2 separate regions of the Homo sapiens genome follow, and region 1 is linked to region 2. Evidence: promoter capture Hi-C in human tissues and cell types (Jung and others, 2019). All regions are on one chromosome and are shown on one strand. Each heading gives the region's core, a stretch centred on a gene start or on the middle of the fragment in contact. The rest is flanking DNA. Distances are from core to core; before and after follow the strand shown. Region 1 has its middle 5.4 kb from the start of DNAJC11. Region 2 holds the start of VAMP3 (vesicle associated membrane protein 3).

The links. The method cuts DNA at HindIII sites, captures the fragments that hold promoters and counts their contacts. A contact is called where the count stands out against the background at its distance.
Region 1: a contact is called between a fragment that was not itself captured here and the fragment with the promoter of VAMP3 in region 2, in 1 of the 25 tissues and cell types used here (dorsolateral prefrontal cortex).

The regions. Positions count from the first base shown.
Region 1 is chr1:6,705,910-6,708,609 of GRCh38, forward strand. No RefSeq gene overlaps it. Among named protein-coding and RNA genes, the nearest start is that of DNAJC11, 5.4 kb to the left of the region's middle. The HindIII fragment of the contact is 6,570 bases long and covers 1-2,700 here.
Region 2 is chr1:7,769,980-7,772,679 of GRCh38, forward strand. It overlaps VAMP3 (vesicle associated membrane protein 3), which reads left to right and starts at 1,317. Exons shown (of 5, transcript NM_004781.4): 1 at 1,317-1,406. The coding sequence starts at 1,405. RefSeq lists enhancers at 521-1,217, 961-1,010 and silencers at 1,244-1,486, 1,451-1,680. The HindIII fragment of the contact is 8,393 bases long and covers 1-2,700 here.

The DNA.
Region 1 (2,700 bases), core at 176-2,675, 1.1 Mb before region 2:
GTTCTGGGACCCTCCCTATAGCACTGGAGGTAGGTTGCCAGATGAAATACACTATGCTCAGCTATATTTGCATTTTAGATGAACAATGAAGAATTTTTTAGTATAAGTATACCAAGGACTGGGTGCAGTGGCTCATGCCTGTAATCACATCACTTTGGGAGGCCAAGGTGGTCAGATCTCTTGAGCCCAGGAGTTCAAGACAAGCCTGGGCCACATGGTGAAACCCCCAACTCTACACAAAATGCAAAAATTAGCCAGGCATGGTAGCACATGCTTTTGGTCCCAGCCACTTGGGAGGCTGAGATGGGAGGATCACCAGAGCCCGGGGAGGTCGAGGCTGCAGTGAGCTGTGATAATGCCACTGCACTCCAGCCTGGGTGACAGATTGAGACCCTGTCTCAAAAAAAAAACAAAACATATATATATATATACATACACACACACACACACACACACATCACATTGTATGGGGATGTATACATATACTAAATAACTACTTTTCTGGGAATCCTGCTTTATTTTTTTATTTTATTTTATTTTTTTGAGATGGAGTCTTGCTCTGTTGCCCTGTCTGGAGTGCAGCGGCATGATCTTGGCTCACTGCAACCTCCGCCTCCTAGGTTTAAGCAATTCTGGTGATCAGCCCACCTTGGCCTCCCAAAGTGCTGGGATTACAGGCGTGAGCCACCATACTGGCCAGAATCCTGTATTTTGATTTGTAACCCCAGCTGGAGGCCTTGCAGCCCTTCCCCCTTTTCCTGAGTAACGCTCCTGAGAGCAGAGGTGGGCAGCCTGCCCCACCCCTTCTATAGCCAGGCTGAATCCACACCCTCTCTATAATTCAGGAGGAAAAATTACCTATAATCTTTTTATTACTCCTTTGTCACTGAGTCCAGACTGGGATTTACTGCATGCTTGCCATTCATAGCCTGCCCGTCCTCTCCCTCATGAGCTCTGACAACCCTGCTAAAGGAGATAGGGAAAAAAGATCCTTTGCTTAAGGAAAGAAGGGGAACTTTGCCAGCATTCAATAATTAAATTTTCTTGATGTTATCTTCTTTCTGAGTATTCACTGACTAGTCTTTAGCCAAGATGATCATTACAGAAGGGTCGGGATACCCCGGGGGAAGAGCCACACCTGCCTCTTTGGAGATAGCCGCCCAGAGAGGCTGAGAATCTAACGCCACTCAGCATTTTACCTGCAATGTCATTCTTCCGTTGTGCCTGTGGGACTGGTTTTCACTGCTTGGGACTTTAGGTCCTTAGTCTCTATGTATTGATCTATCAAAATCCATCAGATCTCTTAGGGGTACCCCATTCCAGTCTGCTTTCTTGGCCGTTTCAGTGATACAGTCCTTTGTCCTTTGGCTCTGCCCAAAATTTATGTTGTCTCTGTTGTCAACCTTTCTATTCTCACCCAGGCTGTCAAGAGTAGGTGGAGAAAGTCTTGGAAAATACAGAGTTCGTGCTATCTAACTTCAACTGTACTGCAGTGTTACCTGGCAATCTTTTCATTTTCATCTCATATTAATAGCCTATACATTCCCCCCACCCTAGTGTCTATTCCTCTTATCCTTAAGTCTGAAGACAGAGTCCTGAAATGGGCACTAGAGTCTCAGCAATTCACAAGAGAGAAATGGGTGCTGTGCTAGTGAAAGTAACACTCAAGGCCGGGCGCCACATGAACACTCAGCGTGGCACGGGGCAGGTGCAGAAAAGAAACAAATTAGTGAATACACAAGATAATTTGAGATGATCAGTGTGTAAGTAAAATACAACATAGTGATGTAATGGTGGAACATCTCCGGTGCAGGAAAGGTACTCCACATTGGTTGGTCTGGGAAGATCTATCCCAGGAGGTGATTTTGAACTGAATGATGGGAAGGACCCAGCTTTGCAAGACCCAGCTTTGCAAGGGGGAAGAATCTCCAGGGCAAAGCCTTTGAGGCAGGAACAGGTTTGGTGTGCAGGACCAGGGAGAGAGCAGGTGAGCGCAGAGCTGACGAAGGTGGGAGAGTGATAGGAAAGGAGGTTAGAGAAGCCACACCAGGGCGGTATCACCAGGGGCCTTAAACATGGTGCTCAGCAATTGAAATTTCATTCTGGCCACAATGGGGAACCACTGAAGGATTCTAAGCAGGGAAATGACATGGTCTGATTTTTGTCCTACCTGAATGATCTCTCCAGGGAGATTGGATTCAAAGGAGCAAGAATGGAGGCATCCCCTCACCCCTACCCCATCAGAGGCTATTGCAGTGTTCCAAGGAACAGATGACGGTGGCCTTGGACTTAGACTCAGTCAGGAGCAATGGGAATGGTCACACATGGACCACACATTGGATTGGAGGCAACAGGAATTACTGATTGATTGGGCTTGGGGAATAAAGAAAAGAGAAGAATTGGTGGTTACTTCTATATTTTGGCTTGAGTTACTAGGTAGTAAGGCTGTTTGTGGAGCTGAGGAAGACTGGGGAAGAGGCAGGCTGGGGAGGGGAGTGACCAAGGGTCCTATTTTGTAGAAGTAGAGTTTGGTCTTTGTTGGACTTCTAAGTGGAAGCACCTACTGCTTCTCCTTCCTTTACCACTCACTCTTGGTGTTTTTTTTTTTTTTTTGAGACAGAGTCTTGCTCTGTCGCCCAGGCTGGAGTGCAGTGGTGCAATCTTGGCTCACTGTAACCTCCGACTCCTGGGTTCAAGCGA
Region 2 (2,700 bases), core at 67-2,566:
TTTAATTCACCTTTTCAGTTACAATCCTCTAAAGTCTTCTAAAAGGCATTTTCCAGCAGATTACGAACGTCGTCCTTTCTGAGTATTGTGTCATCGCCGCTCCCTTCCCGTTCACTGCAGAGCCTCTCCTTATCTCCCTAGTGCTCCCTCTTCCATCTAATCCATCTGGCCACTACTGCCAGAGAAATTTTGCATCATGGATCTCCCACGTCCGTAAGTCAATGGTTTCCAGGGCCCACTACAATTAAATGACATTTTTCTTGTTTGTTTATCCTCTTTATTCAGTCTTCTTTTCACTTGTACCCAACCTGCACCCTCTAGGTGGTCTGTGCACACTGCGTCCATTTTCACTGCTGTCTTTGTTCATGGTGTTTGCCCAACCCTTACTTGGAAAGTTCTTTTCCACTAGTACCCAGCTCAAATCCCACCGCCTTTGTGACACTCGTTTATTCGATATATACTAACGTTTCCCTTTTCAAAGTATTCTATTTAGAGTTGGAAAAAACAGCATAGTATTTAAGTACTGTATTTTTCACTTCTCATCTAAGAGACCCACCAATGACCTATTAGTGTTTTATTTTTTGGTGTAGGTAACTATGTTGGTAGGAATATTTCAGTAACAAATATATACAAGGTAACTCACTGCGTTCAGATTTGTGCTTCCCTCCCTTCGACCAAAACCTGAGGACCTATTCTGTGCTAGGGCCTGAAAATACAGAAATAAAGGAACTACAGCCTTGATGCCAAGGCTCTCGTAAGCAGATTATAATATGATCTGCAGTGACAAATATTTGTGTCACCGATGAAAACATGAGCGGGAACCTCACCCAACACCATGTGACAAATACCCGAAATGGACTTCCTATTTCAACTACTTTAGAGAAACATGGTGCCCTCAGGATCACTAGGTTACTCTGGAACACTCAGCAGAAGCCAGTCATCTGTCTCTAATACTGTTAGAAATGGTCCCGAGCCCAGAATAACATGAATTGCCCCCACCCTCACTTATCCACGCAGTCCCTCGCCAGTGGCTAATGCACCACGTTTACAGACCACGTCCCCAAGCGCCAGCGCGGACGGCGGTGCGGACAGGGAGCTGTATTGACCTGCGTTCTGCGTTTCAGAGCCCGGACCGCCCTGGGACCCCTGTGGCCCTCAAGTTCCCAAGTGACCTCGTCCGGGGAGGGGACGTCTCGCTCTGACCCCGCCCTGGACGCACCCACCCACGACGCCCCCGCCCACTTCCGGCGCGCCCCCTCTTCGCCCCGCCCACTCCCCCGGCTCCGCCTAGTGACGTCTTTGCCCCGCGCCGCGCCGTCCCACCCATCTCCCTGGCCTCCGGTCCCAACTTCGCTTCTCTGCTGACCCTCTCTCGTCGCCGCTGCCGCCGCCGCAGCTGCCAAAATGTGAGTGACGCTACGCGACGCGGGCGGCTTCGGGCCCCGCAGGCGGCAGCTCGCGCTGGGACCGCCATACTGCCCAGTTGCCGCCGGCCGCCACTCGGACGCAGGCCGGGGCTGCGCGGGGATCCCGAGGCCTGGGGGTGGGCGGTGGCCCTTGGGTCGCGGGCTGCAGACGGGCCGGGCGGGTCCCGCGGCCATCGGGCGGACGCGGAAGGGGCAAGGGCGGGGCGGCGAGACGCTTCCCGGAGGAAGTGAGCTGCCCGCCCGCAGCCCGCTCCTCGCCCCTTCCCTTTCTAGTCCCCGACGTCCCTGAGAGGAATGGGGACGACAGCCCTGGTTCGGGAGCGCCCGCTCTCGGCCCGGTGCTGCGCTGGGCCCCAGAAGTTGCGAAAGAAAGGACCTCGGCCCTGTCCTGAGCCCCTGTGGGCCGAAGAGCTCCTTGCCTAGCTAGGGGCATCTGCACTGGAAAGATCACTTAACCGTGGGCCTTCGCTCTCTTAAGCGAAAGCACGTTGCAAACCCCTGCTTCCAGTGGTAAGACTCAGAGAATGCTAATGGTTAAGAATCACAAGGACTCCCTCTTCCACCTCCATTCTGCTCATTGCTCACCGTCGGAGGAAGCCCCGGGTTTCTTCCAGGAGCTGGGGACCCCCCTCGAATGTTCCTGCTGAGGCTGCTGTGCCAATAGATCACAGTGGTTAAGATCTAGAGCCAAGGTACACAGGACCTGATCTAAAAACAAGCTGTCCTGCAGCCAGCTGTGTTGACTCTCTAAACCTCACTTTACTCATTTGTAAAATAGGAGTAATATTCCCCTCAGAGAGTTATGAGGGTTAAAGGAGGAAAAGCATGGAAAGAGTCTAGCGCCACGGCATGGTCCTTACTTATCTACCAGATACTAAACTCCGTGAGGACGGTGATGAGATCTGTTGTAGCCCTGGTCATTGACACATGACAGATGTAAAGTGACTGTTCAAACAGCCCATCAGACTGTTGTATACCAAGGCACATGCTAGGTGCTATCTAGGATACAGAGAAGAGAGTAAGAAGACCCAGGAACCTGTGATCTATTCGAGGAGGCGGGACTTTATACCTGAAAAACCAAAGTGATACTTTCCAAGTAATGGAGCCAATAATGACTTCAGAGTCAGAGTGGTTAAGAAAGATCTGCATGGGGAGAAATAAAGCCTTTGATGAAGATTTTAAAAGATGAGTACCTTCCTGGGCCGGGCGCGGTGGCTCATGCCTGTAATCCCAGCACTTTGGGAGGCCGAGGTGGACGGATCACTTGAGGTCA